Linked DNA regions of Homo sapiens: region 2 is linked to region 1. Evidence: promoter capture Hi-C in human tissues and cell types (Jung and others, 2019). All regions are on one chromosome and are shown on one strand. The core of a region is centred on a gene start or on the middle of the fragment in contact, and the rest is flanking DNA. Distances in the headings are between cores, read along the strand shown. Region 1 holds the start of TMEM42 (transmembrane protein 42). Region 2 overlaps KIF15 (kinesin family member 15).

What was found. Contacts are between HindIII fragments. The study calls those that stand out against the background at their distance.
Region 2: a contact is called between a fragment that was not itself captured here and the fragment with the promoter of TMEM42 in region 1, in 3 of the 25 tissues and cell types used here (bladder, hippocampus and mesenchymal stem cells).

Annotation. Positions count from the first base shown.
Region 1 is chr3:44,860,071-44,866,003 of GRCh38, forward strand. TMEM42 (transmembrane protein 42) reads left to right here and starts at 1,842. Exons shown (of 3, transcript NM_144638.3): 1 at 1,842-2,046; 2 at 4,127-4,273; 3 at 4,970-5,594. The coding sequence starts at 1,855. The coding sequence ends at 5,110. It overlaps MIR564 (microRNA 564), which reads left to right and starts at 1,818; the gene lies at 1,818-1,911. It also overlaps a transcript of KIF15 not described here. RefSeq lists an enhancer at 1,302-1,891 and silencers at 1,922-1,971, 2,302-2,351. The HindIII fragment of the contact is 28,079 bases long and covers 1-5,933 here.
Region 2 is chr3:44,795,573-44,801,417 of GRCh38, forward strand. It overlaps KIF15 (kinesin family member 15), which reads left to right. Exons shown (of 35, transcript NM_020242.3): 9 at 1,979-2,104; 10 at 2,262-2,384; 11 at 4,742-4,865. Among named protein-coding and RNA genes, the nearest start is that of KIF15, 37 kb to the left of the region's middle. The HindIII fragment of the contact is 3,726 bases long and covers 1-3,199 here.

The sequences.
Region 1 (5,933 bases), core at 592-3,091:
CCACAGGACTGGTACAAAGGTAGGGGAGTAGCAGAGACGGCTTTACAGAGGAGGTGGCTCTGAGATGCTTAACCTTTAGTGCTAGTAGAGGCATCGTTTGTTCTAAGAAAATTTGCTTTACATTCTTTAAAGCATGCAGAGTTGATCAATGCAACACCTCTTGATTTCCTGATAAGAGCTTTCAGAGGGTATCATCTTTGAGCAGCTCCTTACTCAATGGAGTGGTGCAGTGAGACCTCTGAGCCTCAATTTCCTCATCTGCAAAATGGGACAGTTTGTACCATATTGGCGTTACTGAAATTATCCGTGTTTTTTTTTGAGACAGAGCCTTACTCTGTCACCCAGGCTGGAGGGCAGTGGTGCAATTTCGGCTCACTGCAACCTCTGCCTCCTGGGTTCAAACAATTCTCTGCCTCAGCTTCCCAAGTAGCTGGGAATACAGGTGCCCGCCACCACACCCAGCTAATTTTTTTTGTATTTTTAGTAGAGATGGAGTTTCACCATCTTGACCAATCTGGTCTTGAACTCCTGACCTCGTAATCCACCCACCTTTGGCCTCCCAAAGTGCTGGGATTACAGGCGTGAGCCACCGTGCCTGGCCTTATCCGTGCTTTTATTTGAGCCACAAAACCACCCTGTGAGAGAAGCAGCATGGTGTGGAAGGACTTCCATAAAAACTTGCTAAACAGAAGATACAAAAAGAATGCTGCTAAACAGTATGTTCAACTGTGAAATCATTTTTGTTTAAAAAATGCATATACATATTCTATAATTTTTTTAACATTTTAACTATATATAACTAAATAGACATATAGAAAAATGCTCTATTAACACTGATTTTCCTGGAGAGTGGAAATAGCACTTTATACATTTCAACACTTTATTTTCAAGGACGTGTACTTTTTAAATGGGAACATTTTATTTTTATTTTTATTTTTTGAGACGGAGTTCACTCTTGTTGGCCAGGCTGGAGTGCAATGGCATGATCTCAGCTCACCACAACCTTCACCTCCCAGGTTCAAGCGCTTCTCCTGCCTCGGCCTCCCGAGTAGCTGGGATTACAGGCATGCACCACCACGCCCGGCTAATTTTGTATTTTTAGTAGAGACGGGGTTTCTCTATGTTGGTCAGGCTGGTCTCGAACTCCCGACCTCAGGTGATCCACCCGCCTCGGCCTCCCAAAGTGCTGGGATTACAGGCATGAGCCACCACGCCCAGCCGGAAACATTCTAAACATACGTAAGTATAACAGGAGATTAGAAGTCATGTTGATTCTGCGTGGCTTGATTATGGATCATTGTCTTCCTCTCATCGCAGATCCTCATTTTTTCGGTTTTCTGTGATGCGCTTGTCCCCATATGGGGCTCTGGCGTCTTTCTGGGTCTGGAGGTCCCCAGCGCCCTCTGCCGAGGCATCTCTTGGTCCGGCGGTCCTCAGGCTGGAGGGTGGAGCGGAGAAGCCTGGTCGACGTGGATGGACTCGGTGGGCCGGCGCGGGGCCCGTTAGGCATCTTTAATAAGTTTCACCGGGAGCCGGGTGGCCGGGATGGAGACGGCTAAGCCGCGAGAAGTTTACCTTCTACCACAGCGTCCACAGTACCCGGCTTGGCCTCAGGCCTCGGGTCCCGACGTCCTCCCCAGAGCACAAACCTACTACAGGTTAGGCCGGAGGCCGCCACAGCCCAGGGTCTCTGCCACCTGGCCCGCCCCCTCCGAGGCGCCGGAGAGCGATTCCCAAGGGGCCTGCCGGAGCGTGGCGTCACAGGAGCGTCGCGTCACGTGAGGCTGCCATCCAATCGCGGCGCGCGCTCTGCCCTGCGGGCAGCGGGTGCCAGGCACGGTGTCAGCAGGCAACATGGCCGAGAGGCCGGGGCCTCCGGGCGGCGCCGTGTCCGCGACCGCGTACCCTGACACCCCCGCGGAATTCCCTCCGCACCTCCAGGCGGGTGCGATGCGGCGCCGCTTTTGGGGCGTATTCAACTGTCTGTGCGCCGGCGCGTTCGGGGCCCTGGCCGCCGCCTCCGCCAAGCTGGCCTTCGGCAGCGAGGTCGAGCCCGGGGCGCTGTTGGTGCTGCTGCTGCGGGCGGGCGGGCGGGGCGCCGCTGGGCGGAGGAGGGGCGCTGCGGGGCCCGCGGGGCTCTTGGGGTGGGGCGGGGGTGGGCGCAGGGCGCCGCCGCACCCTCGCCGGTCTGTCCCGCCGGGGCCCCGGGCCGCGGGCGGCGCTGCGGTCAGCTGGGGTGGCAGAGAGTGTTTCGCCTCTAATCACGCCAAACCCTCGTCCAGTGTAGGTGGTAAGAGACGTCGGGGACTGAGGCCTCTTCCCTTACCAGGGACCTAAAACCTTTTCTCCGGTTGGGCTAGTTCGCTCTCGGGGAAGAACTACACCTCCTACATCCACCCTCTACCTCTCATTTTAAGTCCCTTGTGCCTGAGCATTTCTCTCCACGTGACTCTTAAGGTGAGAAGCCTCTTGCCCATCCCTTTACTCCGTAATTAACGGGTGTTGTGACCAGATGACCAGTCTGCCCCACTACCAGGAAAATTGGGAGTTTGGGATACTGTAGGCATAAGAGGATACTGACAGAGACGTTCTGGATGTTTTCCTGACGCTGAGAACTCCTAAACTTGCATCCTGGCGTCTGCTAAGGTGTATCTCTGCCTCTCCCTCCCACGTCGTAGACCAGCCTCTGCTTGCTATAGGGGTTTCATTGCGTCTGCAGCCCAAGGTTAGCCTCTGACCTGGACAGTGGTCACTGATTATTTAGGGTTAAGCCTATTTAGGGCTAATCCAGTAGTAGCTGCCATGCTTCAGGTTAGTATCCCATTGGGTGTAGTTCATGGGGTAAGTGGTCGAAAGTAAAATGAATAACTTTGTATGGGCCGTGAAGTTTGTTGTCAGGAACTAGACCTTCATAACCCTTTAAGCAGGTTGCCACTGGCCCATATGCTGCTTTGTGTAAGACAAGGTTGTCCAACTCGCGGCCCAACGCAAATTTGCAAATTTAAAACATGAATTTTTTTGCGATTTATTATTTTTTTTTTAGCTCATCATATATCATTAGTGTTAGTGTATTATATGTGTGACCCAAGACAGTTCTTCCAGTGTGGCCCAGGGAAGCCAAAAAATTGAACACCCTGGTGTAAGTTATAAGCAAGCACCTTTTTCTCAAGACACTATGTGTTCAGCTGCTGAGAAACCATTACAAGTAATAAGTATATTTAGATTCCGCACCCCCCCCCCCCGCCGCCTTGTCTCCAGGCAGGTTTCTAACTCACCACCAAGCAAGGGGGACTGCATATCCTTTGTGTAGGAGGCTTCTAAAGATCTTCTCTTCTCTTGAGACTTTCTCCTTTAAAAAAAAAGAAAGAAAATACCTGCAAGTTCTCCAAGGGATGTCTGGGATCACTAAATAGTCTGAGGTGGTGTTTCCCTCAGGCAAGGCTGTGCCCTAGTTAAGAGCATGGAGGTACACTGCCTGCTTGTGAAGCCTGGTGGCTCTCACCGCTGTAGCACTTTAGGAAGGTTACTTAATGCCCCTGGCTCTTTATCTGTAAAATGAAGTTAAGGAATAAATGAGAATGCTTAAACACAGCCCAGGACCTAACACAGAGTAAAAGCTCAAGAATACCCAGAGGGGGTCAGCCTTAGTGGGCTGTAACTTGTATAGGATTTGGGGGTGGGAATACAGAGCAGACATTGCTAATTCATGCTTTGCCTGATCTCAAGAAATAAGAACTCTACCCTAGGCTTACTACCTACGGAGTAAGAACTACTTGGCCCTCTGGGACTGATCTTCAAGCACTGGTCATTGTGGGACCAATAAGGGGCCGGTGTTCAGTAGAAAATACTGGCTTTGGATTAGCATTTTGCTTCTTCCCAAGATCATATGGCCAGCAAGGTGGCCAAATGAGTATCTTCTCTGAATTTGCTTTATTTGTAAGATGGGTCTGCTGCCCACTGAGGGTTAAGTGAAGCCCTGTGCAGGAAAGCTCTGAGGCCCTCTGAGCTGTAGTGGGAGCTCAGTAGGAGCCTGGGTGCCAGCAACCACAGTCCTGGGTGTGCTTTGAGGGGGTCTGCAGGTTGCTGCCCAGGGTGGACGTGGCTGCAGTGACACTTTCTCCTGCAGGTGAGCATGGGTTTATGCGTCTTAGGCATTATTGTGATGGCGAGCACCAATTCTCTGATGTGGACCTTCTTTAGCCGGGGCCTCAGTTTCTCCATGTCTTCAGCCATTGCATCTGTCACAGTGACTTTTTCAAATATCCTCAGCTCGGTGAGTAGCCTGAGGGTGTGGTGCTCTTGTCCTAAATCTGGGTTCTGGGTGAGTTGTCTTTGGATAACCCCTCCTTTCCCAGACAGGAGAAAGGACAGGAACTGAAGCAGAGGTTGGGCTGTGGCTTGACCCCTGGATGAGTGCTCTATTCATGGAGCAAATGTAATTCTAATCATGGAAGAATTCTTAAGTTAGATATGAGTGAAGCCTGACAGTAAAAAGCCTACTTGCTTGCTGTTCCTCCAGGGTGGAGCCCTCATTCTGAAGTCACTGTGCATCCTAGCTGTTTCCTAGGGTTCTGTGTACTCAAGGCTCCATGGCATTTAGAGGGTTGGGATTCCCAGAAACTTTTCTGCCCTGTGTAGTCTGAGGTTGACAAGATGGAGCTGAGCGTAGTCAATCTTGAGTTGAGGGAGAAACAAATACCATGTACCTGCTGTGTCTACCTGCTGGCATCTGCTGGGTCTTTCTTGTGTACTTTGCTGAGGTCCAGTGCAGTGAGGGAGGTAGCCTCTCCACTCATGCAGGGGAGATTGAATAGAGTGACTTGATGAAGGTGACAGCTAGGTTTCAAGCCCAAGGCTTCTGGCTCCAGACCTTTCCTCCTGGCACCCTTAGAAGGAAGTCAGTCCCAGGAGAGTGAGGTTGTGCCCACCTGCTGAAGTTGAGTCCCTCACAGCTATCTTTGTCTCGCAGGCCTTCCTGGGCTATGTGCTGTATGGAGAGTGCCAGGAGGTCTTGTGGTGGGGAGGAGTGTTCCTTATTCTCTGCGGACTCACCCTAATCCACAGGAAGCTCCCACCCACCTGGAAGCCCCTTCCACACAAGCAGCAGTAGCACCACTTGGCTAGACGGACCAGCTGGAAAGATCATGATGGTGGCCCAGCCTTGGGATGTCATGTGGGACTGTATCCTAGGGCGATCCAGTTGTGCAGCCTTCTGACCATCAGCCAAGGGAAGCAGGCCTCTGATGGAGCAGGCTCTGGCTCTGTAAGGAGAGGTGCAGCTGCAGCAGTGTTCTACCGGAAGTGTTTTGATCATCTGTACAGTGCTTTGGATTCTTCCTCCCAGGCCTACCCCAGTGAGCCTTCGCAGATGCTGGAGATCCTGGGGTTGGTCTGCTTTGTGTATGGTACTTGAAACCACGCTGTAATTATTGTCCTGTTGCCAAACAAAAGCCAGTCATGTAACTCTAGAAGCAGTGACTGGTGGGGCTTTCTGACAGTTCCATGCTGATGTATCAGGCCATCTGTGTCATGCTTATGTATTATGGCAAGAAGAGGAAAACTGGATTAATAAATACGTTTTTTGTAAGTTAAAACTACCAGGTACGGTATCTTAATTCTTTCCTTCCCTTTGGAGTAAGAGGGAGCCAGAGTGAGCTGAAATCCCAATGTGGAGGAGGCAGGAGAGTGAGGCAGGTACAGAAGCCTTGTGGCTTCGGTTGCTCTGACACCTGCTAGAGCTTGATCTTGTGGTTACTTCCTGAGGTCACACAGGCTAAGGCTCTTTGAACTGCACAGGGTCTGTTCATTCTCCTGGTGCTCTCAAGGAGAAAAGTTTGACCTCCCTTTGGAGACCTTGTTTTACTTGGGAAAGAAAGTGGTTCAGAGGTCCCTCCATTCCCTGCCACTCTGTTCCTCTAGCGTTTACCTTTAGG
Region 2 (5,845 bases), core at 87-2,586, 65 kb before region 1:
TTACGCTGTTTAATATTTCAGGTATGAAGGGTTAAGTATCTAGTCCTAGGCTAAGGTATCAACAGTGGGACCAGAGGTTCTATGTAATATGTATTGTCAATATGTGTTTATATATATATATATATAGTAATACGAATTGTCAATAAAATATTTGTAGAGTCTATAGTTTAGAATATACATGGGCAAGGGGAGAGGAATTGGAAAGGATGAGGGAAGAGATCTACTTTTTTCATTAAAAGTGAGGATTTGAGTCGCCTGACCTACATTTGAGGCAGTTTCAGGCAATCTGAAGCTCATATTTTTTTGTTTTGAGACAGTCTCACTCTGTCACCCAGCTGGAGTGCAGTGGCATGATCTCGGCTTACTGCAACCTCTGCCTCTCTGGTTCAAGCAGTTCTTCTGCCTCAGCCTCCCAAGTAGCTGAGATTACAGGCGCCCACCACCACACCCAGCTAATATTTTGTATTTTTAATAGAGATGGGGTTTCACCATTTTGGCCAGGCTGGTCTTGAACTCCTGACCTCAGGTGATCCACCCTCCTTGGCCTCCCAAAGTGTTGGGATTACAGGCGTTAGCCACCACGCCCAGCCTAAAGCTCATATTTCTATTGAGATATGAGGCTTAATAAATATAGCATATGGGTTGAGCATGGTGGCTTATGCCTGTAATCCTAGCACCTGGGAGGCTGAGGTGGGAGGATCCCTCGAACCCAGGAGGTCGAGATTGCAGTGAGCTGTGATTGTGCCACTGTGCTCCAACCTGGGTGACAGAGTGAGACTCTGTGTCAAAAAAAGCATATGCTTATAATAGGACATATACCAAGTCTGTTCTAAAATGCTTTACATATATTAATTCATTTAACCTTCCCAACAACTCTGGGAAGTAGGTGCTATTCTTTCTATTTTACAGTTAAAGAAACCGAAGTCACACAGCTAATAAAGGTAGAGCTGAGATTCAAACCGAGCTGCTACAGTACTCTCAACCATGCCACTAACCACCTTTCTGATTTACTGAATGATAACAGCAGTGACTCTGAATTCAGTACATCTTGCATTATAATTTTGACTTTTTCTCTTTTTTGTATACTCCTTCCACTGCAGACCCAGTTTTCAAAATATGCTACCTACAGTAAAAATCTAATGTAACGTATTTAGCTCATTTTTTCCCCCCACCAAGCTTCTGTTTTAAAGTAGTTTTTATTATCCTTTACAGAATTAAACTGAATATTCTCCTCAAATAAGTTCATCAGTGGCTTTGGGGGCTGTATGGGTGAGTTATTAGGCATTATACCCTTAAATATTTTAGCATAAAAGGATTGAAAAAAGTACCTATTAATGCACTACTCTAGCTTTTTTTTCCCTATTTTTTTCTGGTCTTTATAGCTCGGTTTCAAACTATTACAATCATGAAGTGACATTAATATTTTTTTTCTTTGCATGATTTTTGTGTTTGTCTTTTTTTGTTGTTGTTTTTGAGAGAGGGTCTCACTCTGTCACCCAGGTTGTAGTGCAATGGCACAATCTCAGCTCACTGCAACCTCCACCTCCCAAGCTCAAGTGATCCTCCCACCTCAGCCTCCCAAGTAGCTGGGACTACAGGCATGTGCCACCATGCCCAGCAGTTTTTTGTATTTCTTTGTAGAGATGGGGTTTTGCCATGTTGCCCAGGCTGGTATCCAACTCCTGAGCTCAAGCAACCTGCCCACCTCGGCCTCCCAAAGTGCTGGGATGACTAGCATGAGCCACAGTGCCAGCCTGTGTTTGTCTTCTAATACTAAAATTACAGTGTACATCAAATAGGAAAAGGTTAGGGATAGTTCAGCACTTCTTTTTTATTTGTTGAATAGTTGTTCTTTATTAACATTGTCCCTGACTTGCCTTTTCATCCAGAATTTTCCTCTGCTAGATATATTTTCATTCAAAATACCAAAGAGTAACCAACGTACCTAAATTTTTGTTCTTTTCCGTCAACACTTTAGGAAGCAGGTAACATAAATCGATCATTGAGCTGCCTGGGCCAAGTGATTACAGCACTTGTCGACGTGGGTAATGGAAAACAGAGACATGTTTGCTACAGAGACTCCAAACTTACCTTCTTACTACGGGTAAAGTAGATCCTTGGGTTCCTGGGCTCCTTTTGGTTATGCTAAAGTTGATAGTGGGACAGTCTCTCAGCCTTGGTGGCAAGAGTATACATTTTCTTTGCTTAAAAAGGTCTTGTGATTTCTCACCGAAAATATGTTCATTCCTATCATTAAACAGGATTCCCTTGGAGGTAATGCCAAAACAGCCATAATTGCAAATGTTCATCCTGGATCCAGGTGTTTTGGGGAAACCCTATCAACACTTAACTTTGCTCAAAGAGCCAAGCTGATTAAAAACAAGGTAAAATACTGGCGTATACTTCATTAAATAAATGAGAAAAATACTAAAGCTTACAGTATGCCATTTTTGTGATTGCCCTAATATTAACATTAACTTTTATTTATTTCTCATTGTATGCAAAATTTCTATTTTATCTTTCCTACCCTTCTATATCACACATGTAATTAGAGACCTAGGTTAGATCTTATGGTTGTTATTGCTTGACTAGTTTTTTCTTTTTTTTTGAGACACAGTCTTGCTGTGTCACCCAGGCTGGAGTGCAGTGGTGCAAACACAGCTCACTCTAGCCTCAACTTCCTGGGCTCAAGCGATCCTCCTGCCTCAGCCTCCTGTGTAGCTGGAACTACAGGCATGCAGCACCATGCCAGGCTAATTTTTTTATTTTTTTAATTTTTATTTTATTTATTTTTTATTTATTTATTTTTTTGAGACAGAGTCTTGCTCTGTCACCCAGGCTAGAGTGCAGTGGTGCGATCTCTGCTCAGCTGGGACTACAGGCGCCCACCACCACGCCCGGCTAATTTTTTGTATTTTTTAGTAGAGACGGGATTTCACCGTGTTAGCCAGGATGATCTCGATCTCCTGACCTCGTGATCCGTCTGCCTTGGCCTTAATTTTTTTATTTTTTGTACAGGTAGGATCTCACTTTGTTGCCCAGGCTCGTCTCAAACTCCTAGGTTCAAGCAGTCCTCCTGCCTCATCCTTTCAAAGTGCTGGGATTACAGGTGTGAACCACTGTACCCAGCTGACAAATTTTTTCTTAAGGGAAAGCAAATTAAGTATGTGAGTCTTTCTTCCTGCCAACAGCCAATCAATCAGTTCTGCAGCAGACATCAGCTGAGTGTCTTCTGATTCAGTTCCATCCTGACACTTTATGTCTGGAGATAGGGTGAGATCTCACAGGTTCAGGGCTCAGTCCTACAAGACTGCGCCCAACTTCTGATGCCAATTGCAAGCCCCAGCTTGTCCTATCTGTGCTTTCAGACCAACTGGCTGTAAATCAGGAGGTCCATGTTGCCCCTTTCCCTGGGTAAATCAGAAGACTATAGATCTAGTCATTTATTTTATTTCCTTGGACTATGGAGTACTAGTAAGATGAGGAGGAAAAATCATTAGAGCTTCCTGACCCTAAGTCTCTTAAGATTTACTAGAAGTCTTTGGAGATATAGAACTGCAGCAATAATTAGAATTATGAAGTCACTGATGGGACAGTGATGTCAGAAGTGCAGTAGTACCTTGTAATGAGGCTGGCCATAAGAATCAGAAGCAACTGGAAATGGCTGCTTAACACACAAAAGAACAAAACCAAGAGCCTTCTACTAGTCACTCTCAATGGTAAGCCCTTTGCAGCCTATCAGTGGAAAGTGCCAGAGTATCTGGGACTTGTTTAAGGATGTGCTATTTAAATTTTTCCGTGAGCAAATTGGGCTTACAGCGAGAATACAGAAGACCTTGGGGCTGTCACAGGGTGTTTTTTCCTTGCTGGAGTACTGAGTATTTCACAACTGAGTCCTCTGACCTGGTTGGTACTCAGCTGTTGGCACTCGTTATCACCCTTTAGGCTTTGTGGACCTTTTTAAAGCTTTATTTTTTTAATTAATCAACTTTTTTTTTTTTTTTGAGATAGAGTCTCGCTCTGTCAACAGGCTGGAGTGCAGTGGCGCACATGTGTGACCTGCCCCACTCTTGACATCCTGCCCCACAGTGGCACATTTTGTTTGTGAGTCCTTTAGCCTTTTAGAAGTTGTCCTAAATAAGACATTTCTTTAAGAAAATGAAGATAATCATTTAGTGTGGTAAAAAATTAAAAAAAAAAAAAAAAAGGAAGTGTCAAACCAACCCCTCCTTCCAAGAGGGCTGTTAAAAAATAAAGGTCGGATTCCTCTGGAGAAGGTTGCTTCTGCCAAGCTCAAGCCCACCCTGCAAGTCATCATGCACTTAGAGGCTAGGCTCCTTCCCCGTAGGGAGCTAGGAAAGAAGGGAAATGATACTCACTGAGGTATTGGCTCTTCTCCATTGGGAGGGTGGGGGAAGGCTGTCGTTCTCAGGGAAAGAAGTATTAGGTGAACACACCCGGATCCTAAGGGTGACCCAGCCTAAAAGCTCAGGGCTAGTCAGCTGGGGGGCAGAGAGCCTGGCTGGGGCTGTCTCTCTCTGGCTCCAGGTCTGAAGGCACAAGAAAAGGAAGCTTCCTCCCCACTTGAGCACACTGTGATTCCTGTGTCCTTTTGACTATGATGTGGTCTTGAAGTTTTGTTTGATGTTCATCACTACAAATCATACCAAACAAATGTAAACACAGGACTATACTACTCAAAAAGCATTATTTTAATGCTTTTTAAAAAATTCCTGAACAGGCAGTAGTAAATGAAGACACCCAAGGAAATGTGAGCCAGCTCCAAGCTGAAGTGAAGAGGCTCAAAGAACAACTGGCGGAGCTTGCTTCAGGACAGACACCACCAGAAAGCTTCCTGACCAGAGGTAGGATGAGCACACAGTCCTTTATCTTGGGGAAGACTGTACAAATAATAGTTTAAGAGCCCTTGGTGATAGACACAACACAATAAGGCAACCCAAATTTTTCTGCAGGTATCTCTTTCTGCTTATTTCTCCTATATAGGAACATAGTGGTTTGTTTATAATCAGATACAGATACCATAGGCAGTGAGAAGGGGGAATTAAAATAATTTTGAATAATGTATAAGTGCTAAAAAGAGATTAATTTCATTTAGATCTACTTCTACGTAGCATATGTAATCTATATATGTTTACTATAGGATAAGAGAGACTTATTTTTCTTCAAAGAATAGCTAGTAGAGAATTAATTAACTGGAAATCCATAAAGGCAAGAGGGTGAATTATTAACAGATCTTAAGAGGTGCACAGCACCCTGGGACTCCTCTAATTTTTTAAAAAATCTACTTCTACTTCTGTTACACCATGTGTAATCTATTGTGCATATTAACTAAATAAAGAGAAACTTATTCTTTGAAGAACGACTAATATGTGGAATGGTTAATTTGAAATCCGTGATCTAGTGATGACGGTCTCATTGTTTTTTTTTTTTTTGAGACGCAGTCTCTCTTTGTCACCCAGGCTGGAGTGAAGCAGTGTGATCTCAGCTCACTGCAACCTCTACCTCCTGGGTTCAAGCGATTCTCCTGCCTCAGCCTCCTGAGTAGCTGTGACTACAGACCCACGCCACCATGCCCAGCTAATTTTTTTGTATTTTTAGTAGAGATCGGGGGCGGCGGGAGGGGGGGGTCTCACCATGTTGGCCAGGCTGGTCTCGAACTGCTGACCTCAAGAAAGATATCCGTCTGCTTCAGCCTCCTAAAGTGCTGGGATTACAGGCATGAGCCACTGTGCCCGGCCACAGTCTCATTCTTTTAGATTAGTTGAGAGCAATCAATTAAAGGCTATCTGTTCTCTTGGTTTTGCAATGTGATAAATATTTTTTT